Linked DNA regions of Homo sapiens: region 2 is linked to region 1. Evidence: promoter capture Hi-C in human tissues and cell types (Jung and others, 2019). All regions are on one chromosome and are shown on one strand. The core of a region is centred on a gene start or on the middle of the fragment in contact, and the rest is flanking DNA. Distances in the headings are between cores, read along the strand shown.

What was found. The method cuts DNA at HindIII sites, captures the fragments that hold promoters and counts their contacts. A contact is called where the count stands out against the background at its distance.
Region 2: a contact is called between a fragment that was not itself captured here and the fragment with the promoter of RBM17 in region 1, in 1 of the 25 tissues and cell types used here (adrenal gland).

Annotation. Positions count from the first base shown.
Region 1 is chr10:6,084,858-6,091,819 of GRCh38, forward strand. RBM17 (RNA binding motif protein 17) reads left to right here and starts at 4,177. Exons shown (of 12, transcript NM_032905.5): 1 at 4,177-4,336. RefSeq lists enhancers at 3,829-3,878, 4,835-5,673 and silencers at 4,039-4,478, 4,489-4,578, 4,849-4,908. The HindIII fragment of the contact is 7,744 bases long and covers 2,514-6,962 here.
Region 2 is chr10:5,703,333-5,710,294 of GRCh38, forward strand. All of the region lies in intron 1 of TASOR2 (transcription activation suppressor family member 2), which reads left to right. Among named protein-coding and RNA genes, the nearest start is that of TASOR2, 22 kb to the left of the region's middle. The HindIII fragment of the contact is 5,209 bases long and covers 1-4,084 here.

The DNA of each region.
Region 1 (6,962 bases), core at 2,927-5,426:
CAACCTCTGCCTCCCAGGTCTGAGCGAATCTCCTTCCTCAGCCTCCTGAGTAGCTGGGATTATAAGCGCCCACCACCATGCCCGGCTAATTTTTGTATTTTTAGTAGAGACGGAGTTTCACCATGTTGGCCAGGCCGGTGTGGAACTCCTGGCCTCAAGTGATCCACCCACCTTGGCCTCCCAAAGTGCTGGGATTATAAACGTGAGCCACCGCGCCCAGCCTTCTTTCATTATTTTTATTACAAAAGCAATGCAAGCATATTACTCAGAGATAAAAAAGGCAAACAAGCAAAAAAATTTAAATAAAGAATCCTGATAATCCCTATCTGGAGCCAGCCATATTGGCAAATACCTTATAGATACTTTGTATATATTTATAAATTTTTAAAACAAAAATGGGATCCTTCCATGTAAATTATTTGTCTCTCAACATAATTGAATTTCCCTAAGTTGTTATTGTTCGCTAGTTTGTTCCTATATTTTTACTATTAGAAACCTTACAGAGCAGGAATAACTGTAGAGAATGATTTAGAAAGACAAAAAAAGTGAAAAAACTTTAAAAAATCTGTGAGATGGGCCGGGCATGGTGGCTCACACCTGTAATCCCAGCACTTTGGGAGGCCAAGGCGGGTGGATCACTTGAGGTCAGGAGTTTGAGACCAGCCTGGCCAACATGGTGAAATATCATCTCTACCAAAACTACAAAAATTAGCAGGGCGTGGTGGCAGGCGTCTGTAATCCCACCTACTCAGGAGGTTGAGGCAGGAGAATTGCTCGAACCCAGGAGGTGGAGGTTGCAGTGAGCCCAGATCATACCATCGCACTCCAGCCTGGGCAACAAGAGAGAGACTCCATCGAAAGAAAAAGAAAGAAAGAAAGAAAGAAAGAAAGAAAGAAAGAAAGAAAGAAAGAAGGAAAGAAGGAAAGAAGGAAAGAAGGAAAGAAGGAAAGAAGGAAAGAAGGAAAGAAGGAAGGAAGGAAGGAAGGAAGGAAGGAAAGATTTCTGAAATGGCCGAAGCTGCTTAGAGATATACATGCCTGTAATCCCAGCACTTTGGGAGGCCGAGGTGGGCGGATCACCGGAGGTCAGGAGTTCGAGACCAGCCTGGCCAACATGGTGAAACCCCGTCTCTACTAAAAATACAAAAAGTAGCCGGGCATGGTGGCGGGCACCTGTAATCCCAGCTACTTAGGAAGCTGAGGCAGGAGAATCGCTTGAACCCGGGAGGCGGAGGTTGCAGTGAGCTGAGATTACTCCATTGCACTCCAGCCTGGGTGACAAGAGCAAGACTCCGTCTCAAAAAAAAAAAAAAAAAAAAAGATACAAAAAAGGAGACAAAAATCATTCTCCACGGTGCACCGAAAGCATCCCTACACACAGAATCCTTGGGAATACTTGTTTTTGATCAAATTATAATCTGATCAAATTGTCTTAACTAGCTTGTCTTCCCTCCAGGGCCCACACCCCTTTCTTTTCCTGTTTCGGGGTCCCCCGGTTCCATCCATGCTGCATACTGTAGCATTTCACCCAGCCTTTCCTGCCAGCCCAAACACCGCCCTTATCTTCTTTCTTCCTGGAACATCTGCCCTGCTAATTCCCAGTTTCCGATGAATTCTACCATCTGCTGCCTGCCAGCCTCCTGCCAGGCGCTGAGCACAGCTGGAGCAGATCACACGACTTGTTTACGCAGGAGTCACTACCGATGTTTGCTCTGCAGCCCCGAGGGGGCGCTCCAGCGCGTCTGTCTTGTCCCTCTTCTAAAGCTCCACCGTTTTGTGTGCGCTTTCTGATAGTTGCATGGCCTGGGTTCTGTTCCCCCATTGGGTTAAGCTTTGGATTCTCGGTGCATAAAATAAAGATGATATTTGTTACTATTGACAGGAAATGGAGGCAAGCATGAGACTGCTCACGTACTAGGAAATGAAGTAAGGCAGTTTTCCTCCTGGAAGTTAAACTAGAAAATTCCTAAACAATGGATGTGATTGCATCTATGGTCTGTAAACCAAAAAGTTACTTGTGTATGTATGATGGAATGATTTGGGAACAAAGGCACAAATTTTCAACCAAAAAGGGAGGAAGGAGTGGTCTCAGACTGCAGAGTGGAGACGCCAAGCAGATTAGGGAGTACAGGTAGACAGCAGGTTCAACCTGGAGGAAGTCCTGCAGCTCTGGACCTCCTAATCAGGGCTTTTGCACCCCCACCGGTGCTTTGATCACGGGGTGGGGAGAGACCCAGTCTAGACACCTTCTATCTTTGCCCTTCTTCCTTTTTCTGTTTACACGCTATTACTTTCTGCTTCTTTTATTGACCAAGTACGTCCTTCTGCTTCTCACATTTTTATTTTATTTCCAGTTTCTTGCACAAGTGCTTAATTCATTTAGCTTTTTCCAAGTTTTTAATTGATACAAAAACTTAAAACCATGAATTTTCCTCTTAGTACTCTCTGAGCTAAATCCCATGAGTATGTCATTTTCATACTTTTCTAGATATTATGTTATTTTGATTTTGTTTTCCTTTTTAGTCCAAGTGTTATTTAAGCATTTAAAAATTTTCAAGGGGTAGGCATGTTTTATTTTCTGTTTTTTCATTAATTTCTACTTTTATTGAATTGCTGCAGATAATATTACCGATATGATTCTACTTATTGGACTATGTTAAGATTTTTCTCTGTGGTTTAAAATATGACTAATTGTTGTGAATATTCCTTAGACACTGGAAAAGATGTAATGTCTATTTAGGGGACAGTGTTTGATATATTAGATCTATCATAGGAATTGTATTTTTAGGTCTTCTCAATCCCCATTTACTTTTTGTACTCTTCGTCTGGCAAGGAGTGTGCCAATTATTTCTGTCTATTCACTCACTCCTACAGTGTTTGCTATGAATAATGAGATTATGTGATTTGGTGCAAAGATTTTCCTATTTTTCCTATTTTTTTCTTGATTGTGAATTGTGCTCCTCAAGATTATAAAATGTCCTTCTTAATCTTACTTAATGCTTTTTGCCCTGAAATCAACTTTGTAGTAAGCGGTTTGTGATTCCTGATTTTTTTAATTTTTTTGCATATTCCTGGTATATCTTTTCCAATCTTGTATTTTCAAACTCAGAATAACGTTAGCACTTTCTTGTATACAACACTGAGTTGCATGATGGTTTGTGCTCCTATCTGAGATTGTAGTTTTTTAGTAGGTAAGCTTAGGTCTATATTTCTTCTTGTGAGACATTTGGTCTTGTTCTGTCATATAGTTTGGTTACGCTTTCTGTTTTGTAACTTTTTAAAATATTTCCCTATATATATATTTTTTTTGCTGTGGTTTTGTGTGTGTGTGTGTGTGTGTGCATGCATGTATGTGTGGGTGCATGTATGTGTGGATTATTTGAAAGCTTTGTAGTTTTGTTCTGGGTTACCCTCAGAATCATACCATCCCATGACGTCCTTAATCCTCTATTTCTTTAGATTGTCTTTTGTCTCTCCACTGTATTTCTTTTTTCCCCCTTTTCCCGTTTTCTTAATGACTGGATTTTAATGGATTATAGTAACTTTCTTGGTATACTCCTTCGGACTAAGACGTCTGCTTAAATCTCTACTATTTGATTTATCGGCTTGAACTCTATTTGACACCCAATTAATTACAGATGTAAAAATCATATTTACCCGAAGTCCCACTTTCCCTTTCCCTCCCTGCTTCTGTCAGCGACGTCGTTTTTAAAGACCGAGGCTTTATAGCATTGACATTCTTTTCTGTACCCCTAATCGCGGCATCTGTTTCCATAATCTTACGCTTAACCTCGTGCTCCTTGCCATCCTTTTGCAGCATCTGGCCTATGCAGACTTATTTTCAACTTTTTGCTTATATAGGAGTGGCTTTGAATGAATGAGATCGAGGGGCCTGGAGGGACTTCCCCCACCTCCCCTATCAGAAAGCCCGGCCTCGGACCACTTCTCCTCCTCACCATCTGGGGGCGCTGCCGCGCTCCCCAAGCCTTGTGGAATTTCGAAAATGTGCGCCAGGGCGACACCTCTTGATGGTAAGAAGACGCCGGCGGAGGGGAGCGTGCAGTGCGGTCCTCCCGCGGGCAGGGGGCAGTGCGGCAAGGCGCCCTCGGCGCAGGCGCAGAGGCCGAAGCAGGCGCAGGCGCAGGCGGGGCGCAGGCGCGGGCGCGCTCTCCCGGCAGCCCGCGCTCCCTGACCCCGCGCCGCCGAGCGCCCTGAGGACTCAGCGAAGGGTGGGCGCCGCCGAGGCCTCCTGCCGCTGGCGGGTTTCCGCGGAGTGCCGCCCGGCTCCGCTCTGCCGCCGGCGCGGCTCATGGGCAGAGTCGGCCGGGCGGGCCGGGTAAGTGGCGCCCCGGCGGCCCCGGGTGGGTGGCCTGGCGGGACCTGAGGCGGGCGCGCCTTCCCGGGAGGCGCTAGACGCAAGCCCGCGGCTTTAGGCCCGTCGCGAGGGGCGGAGGCCGGGCCAGCGCAGCCGGAGCCTCCGAGGGTCTCAGTCCCCGCGGCGGGCGCTGGTCTCTCCACGCGGCTGCGGCCCGGTACCCTCCGCCCGCCGCCGCCTCTGGTGACCCTGGCCCTGACCTTCTCCCTCTTCCCTTCCTCCTCCTCCTCCTCATGTCTGCCTCGGGCTGTTTGGTGCTGAAGAGCGTTTCTTCTCCGTCTCGTGCACCGCATCCTGACGAAATTGTCTGGTCACCAGAACCGAGTAGCCCGTAGCGTGTCCCCCCTGGCCCTGCACGGTTGCCCCTCTCTGGGGCTCGGAGCCGGTTCCTCCCGGGGTCTCAGAACTGGGAGTGCAGACGTTGGCGTTTCTCAGACTCCGGAGCTGCCCGGGACAGGAATGCAGCCCTAACCCCGGCGTCGCCTCGGCTCGTGCAGTTTGAGCGGTGTTTCAGCGCTCACGTCCGACCCCAGGCAGTCTTTGAGCTTCGCCTCTTGCCCCGAGAATGTGTAATGATCGGAGAATGCAGGTGGAATGAGGTTCTGCCCCTGCTTGCAGGAGTTTGGTTTCTGGGAAAGCAGGCGTGAAAACCCAGGCCCGGGTTGATTTGAGAAACGCAAGTGGGGTCTGGAAGGACCTCTCTTGAGAGAGGAGGTCATGCTTATGTTGAGTCTTGAAGGTACGTTGTTAGATGTGAGAGGTGGGAAAAAGGCTGCCGGCGGAGGAAGTAAGTGCGAAAGTAGCAGAAGCGAAGCCCCGTAGTGCGTTCTGGAAGCTGCAGGTTAGGCAGAAAGAAAGGTTTGAGGAGGGGCTGCTGTGTTTCCAGGAGTAGTCAGGTCAGAACATGGAGGTTTCTTGAGAAGCAGTAAAGAAGCGCCATTGAGGGTCCTTATTTTGCTAGAGCCAGGCATATGGATGGGAAATAGGATATTCTAGATAAGGGCAAGATTCGCATATACTCAAATAGATGGGTAGATGTGCACTGGCTCCCCGCAGCAGATGGAGTTTTTAAAAGGATGCAACACAAGTTTCCACATTTTTAGTTGTAAAGGCTGCAGACATTTTGATCGTAATGACAGCTTTTAGGGAATATGGGGTAACAGTTTAGTGAGCTAAACGAGAGGGCTTTATTTTTAGAGTTAGTTAAGCAAGGTGCTGCGTGCTGTCCAGTTTATAACAGAGCAGGTTGTGCGGTTGTGGAGCTCTGCGGAACCAAAGGCAGCCTTTCTGGAGGCTCTTGAGAGAATTGTTGTACACTTCCAAATGCAGCTTTATTTAAAGTGGATTTCTTTTTACCTGGTTTGTTTTAACTTACCTTCCCATTCTCCCCTGCCTATGAATTTTTCAGACCTCCTCCCAGCAGGGAACAGATGATCCCAGGCTAGTCATCTCTCAAACCTTTCATAATAGTCAATAGTGAAGGAAGTTCTGTTATTCGCCTAAATTACAGGTGACTGTAGTGGACTGTGTTTGCAATACTAGCCTATGGCATTTTGGTAACAGCCAGAGGGTGGGATTGAATGGAAAGATTAAACTGACAAGGGCGTCAGATGGAGGTATGGGAAAAATTTTTTTTTAATTCTTTAGAAAGTCATGGTAGATCTTATACTTGAGGTAGATGCTTTTTAAGCTGTATTTTTTGCGGACACCAAAGTGCACCACCCCTCCTGTTCCTTTCTGGGTATATTTGCCATATATATGTATATAAATATATAAATATTTATATATTTATATATATTTATATATTTTTATATATATATTTATATACATATATTTTTTTCTCCTGAGACAGAGTCTCACTCTATAGTCCAGGCTGGAGTGCAGCGGTGTAAGTCGGCTCACTGCAACCTCCACTTCCCAGGTTCAAATGGTTCTCTGGCCTCAACCTCCTGAGTAGCTGGAATTACAGGCGCTCGCAACCATGCTCGGCCAATTTTTGTATTTTCAGTAGGGACGGGGTTTCACCATGTTGGCCAGGCTGGTCTCGAACTCCTGATCTCAAGTGATCCTCCTGCCTCGGCCTCCCAAAGTGCTGGGATTACAGGCGTGAGCCACTGGGCCCGGTCTTGCCATATTCTTTAGGCTTCAAAGAGGCATGCTTTGTTTTATGATGCATGAATATCTGTTTAGTGATAGAAATATTTCTTGCTAACAAGCCTGCCTCTTTAGGTGCTCAGAACTCAGACCTTGACTCGTTATTGGTTGTGTGGTGGTGGTAGTTTTTTTCTCCTTAATTATGGTTTGCAATTTAAATTTTATCCTACTTATCATAAGTTATGTGCTTAAAAAGCAGATCTGCAGATCTCACTGTTTCATAATAATGTGATTTAAATAGGTGCACTAACATTTTTCATCCATTCACTAACACATTTAAAAAATATTAATAGAGCCACTTAACAATGTTCAAGCATGGTGCTGAGCTAGAGATACAAAGCTGAACATAAGAAACACCCCTGCCTTTAGGGGGCTTACACTGCAGGAAGAAACCGCTGTGTGAAACAATAGGCAGCATAACTTGCCAAGGTTG
Region 2 (6,962 bases), core at 230-2,729, 380 kb before region 1:
GTTGAATTTTATGTCTAATAAGGCATAGGTTTTTTTAAATCTCTCAGTATGATTAATTTTATGAATAAATTGTCTAATGTTACACCTTCCTTCCTTGAATTCCTGGCATAAGCTTTATCTCAATCATGTTGTTTTATATTTTATATATATTGCTAGTTTAGGTTTTTCTGATTTTTTTTTTTTTTTTTTTTGAGACAGTCTCACTCTGTCACCCAGGCTGGAGTGCAGTGGCACAATCTCGGCTCACTGCAAGCTCCGCCTCCCGGGTTCATGCCATTCTCCTGCCTCAGCCTCCCGAGTATCTGGGACTACAGGCGCCCGCCACCACGCCCGGCTAATTTTTTGTATTTTTAGTAGAGACGGGGTTTCACTGTGTTAGCCACGATGGTCTCGATCTCCTGACCTCGTGATCCGCCCGCCTCTGCCTCCCAAAGTGCGGGATTACAGGCGTGAGCCACCGCGCCCGGCCTCTGATGTTTTTATTTAAGATTTTTTTGCATGTGTTGTCATTGGTGATGTTACCTTAAAATGTTCTTTTATAGTTGTTCCTTTCTGGGTTTTCATTCAAGGTTGTGCTAGACTTATAATTTGAGAAAGTTTTCATTCTTGGCCAGGCGTGGTGGCTCACACCTGTAATCCCAGCACTTTGGGGGGCCCAGGTGGGTGGATCCACCTGAGGTCAGGAGTTTGAGACCAGCCTGGCCAAGATGGTGAAACCCCATCTCTACTAAAAATACAAAAATTAGCTGGGCCTGGTAGTGGGCGCCTGTCATCCCAGTTACTCGGGAGGCTGAGGCAGGAGAATCACTTGAACCTGGGAGGCGAAAGTTGCCGTGAGCCGAGATCACACCATTGCACTCCAGCCTGGGTGACAGAGTGAGACTCCATCTCAAAAAAAAAAAAAAAGAAAGTTTTTATTCTTGAGAATAATGTTTATGTGGGAAAACTTCTGGGCTTGAGACTTACATACCTATAACAACTAACTCTACCACTTATTTAATAGTTGTAGGTATATTCTGTTTTCTTAAGTAGGTTTTGATAAATTATTTCTGGAAAATTCCCCTGTTTTCTCTATGATTTCAATTTTTTCTATAAAAATTGTTTCTATTACCCTTATAATTTATAGTACATATAAATCACACTCCTTTTTATTTGTAATGTTGGTTTTCAGTGCCTTGTTTTGTCCTTGATTAATTTGACTAAAGATATATCAATATTTTTTGTCAAAAAGCTAATCTTTTTTCAGCTATTTTTTCTTCGGTTTAATTAATATCTGATCTTCTCTTTTTATTTCCTCCTCTTATTTGCTTTGGGTTTACTGTGTTGTTCCATTTTCTGAGTTCTTGAATTGACCGTAGCTTATTGATTCTTTAAATGTTTTTCTTTTGTAGTGTATACATTTGAAATGAACAGTTTCTTATAGCTATTTTAGATAATATCTTAAGCTTAGATCATGTTACTCTTTAACTTATGAACCATTTATATGTAGGATTTTTAAAATTTAAATTTCCAAACATGAGGCTTTTGAGATTAACTTTTTATGGTTACATTGTCATTTTACTTGATTTTGGTCAGAGATCAGTTGTTTTTTAGTACTCTTGGAATTTCCTTTGTGGCCAAATTCATAACCATTAGGTTTTGTTTTGGGGCTTTCAGCTCAACTTCATTGAGGTCTAATTTTCATACAATAAAATGAACATAATTTAAGTATATAGTTCAGTGAATTTTGGTAAATGTATATACCATGTGATGACTACACCAATAAAAATAGTGTGTGTCCATCACCCCAGAAAGTTCCCTTGTGCATACCCCACTTGTAGTCAATTTTCCTATTCCTGCCCCCTGCTGTAGGCAACTAATGAAATGCTTTTTATCACTATAGATTAATTTTGCTGCTTCTTGAACTGTATATGTATAGAATTTTACAGTATGTACTCTTGTGTCTGATGACTTTTGCCCAGTTTAATGTTTTGAGATGCATGCATATATCAGTTTTACTTTTTTTAATTGCTGATTATTATTATGTGTGAATATACAAGTTTATCCATTCACCTATTGATGAATATTGGAGTTGCTTCCAGTTTTAGGCTACTGTGAAAAAGCTGCTCTGAACATTCATGTGCAAGTGTTTTTGTGGATATGTTTTATTCTCTTGGGTAAATATCTAGGAATAGAATTTTGGGTCATATGGTAAGTATGTGTTTATAAGAAACTGATGTTATTTTTTAAATTGGCTATATAATTTTTCAGTTGGCTTTATATTTCTACTAGGAGTGTTCCAGAGGCTCCTCATCCTTGCCAACGCTTGGTATTTTCAGTCTTTTTAGCCATTCTACTGGAGCAGTAGTATTTTATTGTGGTTTTAATTAGCACTTCCCTGATAACTAATAATATTGACCCATTTCCCATGTTTCTTTTTATTATATGCTTTATTTTGTGAAATGTGTCTATGAGTTTTTTATATATTCTAGGTACAGGTACTTTACAAATATTTCCCATTTCTTAATAATGATACCTTGGAAGATCAGATGGTTTTAATTTTTAGGAAGTCTGATGTATACATTTTTCTAGGTCACTAATTTTGTGCCCTATGAAAACTTTATGTACCCCATAGTCAAGTACATTTTTTCCTATGATTTTTTAAATTTTATAATTTTAGCCAAATAGTTATAGTTTTTATGTTTAGGTCTGTGATTCATTTTGAGTTAAATTTTATGGTTTAAGGTAGAGGTTTGAGGTTCATGTTTTTTTCCTCCGTTTTAGTTGTTCTGTAGCAGCATTTATTGCAAAGATATTCTTTCTCAATGGAATTATACTGGCAATATTGAAAATCTGTTATCTGGACTCTATTCTGTTCCATTGATCTATATGCATTTTCTTTGTATCATTACCACCTTGTCTTGACTACTTTAGCTTTGTAGTAATTCTCAAAATCAGGTAGTGAGTCCTTCAGCTTTGTTCTTTTTCAAAATTGTTTTGGCTTATATCTTTCTTATATAAATTTTAGAATCAGATCATCAGTTTCTGCAAACTGAGATTGTGTTGAATCTGTAGATCAATTTTGTGTCTTAACATCCCCCAGCAAAGTTAGAAAGCCAGGCAGTAATATCAGAGGGCACAAGCCCAGATTGAAGCTGGAAGACATAGTGCTCCAGAAAGGTCCTTCCAAAAAAAAGAAAAGAAGCTGCTCAAAACAGACAAAATCTTTGATCTATCTTTATCCAGAGGATATTGTTAGTTCTCTAGAATTTCAAGCTGAAATAATGATTGGTAACTGAAAATTAAGCTATTTTAAATTCAGAAAAGCAAAACACGGTATAAGGAAAGAACTTGACTACACAGTATGGCTCAGCAATGATTAATACATACAGTTAAGTAGTGAAACCTAGGCCTAGCACGGTGGCTCATGCCTGTAATTCCAGCACTTTGGGAGGCCGAGGTATGCAGATCACTTGAGGCCAGGAGTTCGAGACCAACCTGGCTAACATGGTGAAATCCCATCTCTACTAAAAATACAAAAATTAGCCGGGCATGTTGCTGGGCACTTGTAATCCCAGCTACACGGGAGGCCGAGGCAAGAGAGTTGCTTGAACCCGGGAGGTGGAGGTTGCAGTGAACCAGAATCAAGCCACTTACGCTCCAGCCTGGGCCACGGAGCAAGACTCCGTCTCAAAAAAAAAAAAGTAAGCACCCAACAAATGTTAGCCATTGTTATCATTAATAACAATAGCTTCCTTGCTAACAAATACTAGGATAACGTCTCTATCCATGGCAGCAAAGAAAAAAGGAATTTGCTAAGTTATCTGATGCCAGTGCACCATGCCTCATGCACAGCAAGCCTTCAGTAAAGTTCCTTGTAGAGTCACAACTGAAAGGAGCTTTAGAAAGGCAATTATAACTAAAGGAGGCCTTAGAGAGTATAAATTTAACAAAATCCATCAGTTAGTATGTCTTCAGCTTCCAATAAAAGTTTAAACAATAAGGAACATTTATTATTTCATGTATAAAGCCCAAAGATGAGGCAGCCCCCAGGTTAGTTTATTTCATCAGTTCAGGGATCTAGTTTCTTTCTGTTCTGTTCCGTTCTATGTTGGCTGCCATCTTGGTTGCAAGGAGATCCAGGCAACACATCTTCAGACAAGATCCTAGGCTAGAAGATGGAGTCCTTTTCTAAGAAAGGTTTCCCAGAACTCTCTCTGTAGACTTCCATTTATATCTCACTGGCCAGAACTGAGTCACATGTTTATTCCTAAAACAAACACTATTCAAAGGGAGTGGAATTACCATAATGATCTTAGAGTAATTAAGATTCTCATTCTCTTTCTCTCTCTCTCTCTCTCTGTCTCCCCCCCCAACCCCACACACACACATACTCACTCTCCCTCACTCATTTTCACACACACACACACACACACACACACACACACACACACACACACACACTTCTTCTGAACCATGGGATAACCTGATACCTGAACAAAATTGTGGTTTTATGGAAGGGAAGTAAAAGGGACATGATTGTTGGGAAGTCAATCCAATGTGTCTTTAACCACTGTCTCAAAACACATTAGTGGTAGCACCTAGTGAGTTCAATAGGTAGACCAGAACCCTGGTCTCCCTATTCCTAATTTTCCCCTACATAAACAACCTCCTTCATGAATTATTATCAACATAGCTACTTTTCCTAAAAAATTTTGAATGTATCCACACAATTCTACCTCCAGTTCTTTTTGGGGGGAAAATGTGCTGTAAAACTATACATGCTGTTTTTGTGAAGCATATGAAAATCCTTATTCCACAGACTCATGATAAAAACTGAAAACTTGACCACCTTTGTAATCTTTTTCTTCGTTCTTATTCTTCTCTCCCTTCTTCCCTTAATCAGTCATATTAAACTATTTGCAGTTCCTTTAATGTATCATGTTTAAACCGCTGTTCATTTGCTCATACTATTTCTGCTATCTAGAAAATGTACACTAGTTTCCTTTTTTGGCTTCCTCATTGGAATATCTTCCAGATTTCAAGTATCTGTGCCTCCATGAAATCTTTCTTGACATAGCTCCATCTCCATAAAATTGGTTGTATCACTGTACATCCACTATATCATGTTTTAGATACTCCTACACATTTATAGTACTAATTTCTTTGCAGATTTTTCTTCCTTGTCTATTCTGAGCTAACTTGCTTGCTTTCTCTTTCTTTCCTTTCTTTCTCTTTCTTTCTTTCTTTTTCTTTCTTTCTCTCCTTTTCTCTCTCTTTCTCTATCTCTTCCTTCCTCCCTCCCTCCCTCCCTCCCTTCCTCCCTTCCTTCCTTCCTTCCTTCCTTTCCTTCCTTTCTTCCTTCCTTCCTTTCCTTCCTTTCTTTCCTTTCCTCTCTTTCTCTCTTTCTGACATGGTCTGGCTCTGTTACCCAGGCTGGAGTTCAGGGGTGCAATCTCAGCTCACTGCAACTTCTTCCCCCCAGACTCAAGCCATCGTCCCACCTCAGCCTCCAAAGTAGCTGGGACTACAGGTGCACTCCACCATGCCTGGCTAATTTTTGTATTTTTTATAGAGGTGGGGTCTCACTTTGTTGCCCTGGCTGGTCTCAAGCTCCTGAGTTCAAACAATCTGCCTGCCTTAGCTTCCCGGCGTGCTGGGATTACAGGCATGAGCCACCTCGCCCAGCCTAATCTGAACTTTTTTAATGTAGAGCCTGTTTCCCTGTAATAGAGACTGTTTGCCATTTGTCTTGATAAATCCAAGATTTAGCATGATATTGGATGCATAATAGTCACCACTAATAGTTTTGTTTAATGAATATATATACAACTAATTTGGGGGAGGAGAGAGATTTTTGTAAATTGTGTTCTGCTTGATTCCGTTATTTTCAACTAGTGGAATAAAGATGTGGTTCTGTGATCTCTTCATTTTGAAAGATTTTTTTTCAGTAAGGCAAAAGCGATTAAGCATAATATATTTCTGTGTACAAAATTTTCTTTAGAAGTTAAAGACTTTTGGAGGAAAAACATTTCAGATTATGTGTTATAGCTTATAGAACAAATTAAGTCCTTAGCTGAGAATACTTGTCAAAGGAGGTAAATAAATATTACATAATTATTCCTAATACAAATTACTCAGCGAACATTTGTTTCTATAGTAAATATGCTATAAATAGAATTGTTCACTTTATGATTTTTTTTCTTTCTTCATTTTAGCATTTATGACATTAACAGAGAACAGGACTATGTCAAGAATTCTGAGGGTATACTTGGTGAAAATGAATTAAGACCACCCTCCCAGCTACATTCTCTCTTAGAGAAGATCGAGACAGGGTCCCTATCAGAAAAGAGTGGGTATTAAACTAAGTGCTATAAGTCATAACTAATGAATCCAGAATAGAATGATTAAAATGTTTTTAGTTTTAATTTAGATCATGTAAAACAAAAAGACTTTAAAAAATTATGATTTCCAGTACCTATATTTTTTAAAATAATCATTAGTCCAAAAGTAATAGGTGATTAACTTTTCAAATTGCAACATAAAACACGTATGTTCCTCTGTTGTGATTGAATTTAACCTTTCTCACATGCTCTTTATTCATCACTTAAGCCCTAAGGGATATACTTAATGCTTTATAGGCAAGCACTTTTCAAGTTTTACCGTCTTAGATTTTTAGGTTTCTTTGTGGTATAGCCCCCTCTTCATTTTCATAGTCTGGTAATCTTGAATGTTTAAATAAAGCTTGAGCATTGCTCAGCAGTTATGAGACCATTCATTCATAAAGTGTTTGTATTGTTTGGTGCACTGATTGGACTCTCAAATGAAAGTGTATTTTGTAAAGAAGGGAGAGCGTCAAATTTCTAGATGAAATTTTCATCTGTCTCCTCATTTACTGAACAGGAAACTTGTGCTTTCTTGAGAGTGTAATTGATGTCATTATGAACCCATGAAAGATTTAAGATTAGCTATGATTTTCCAAC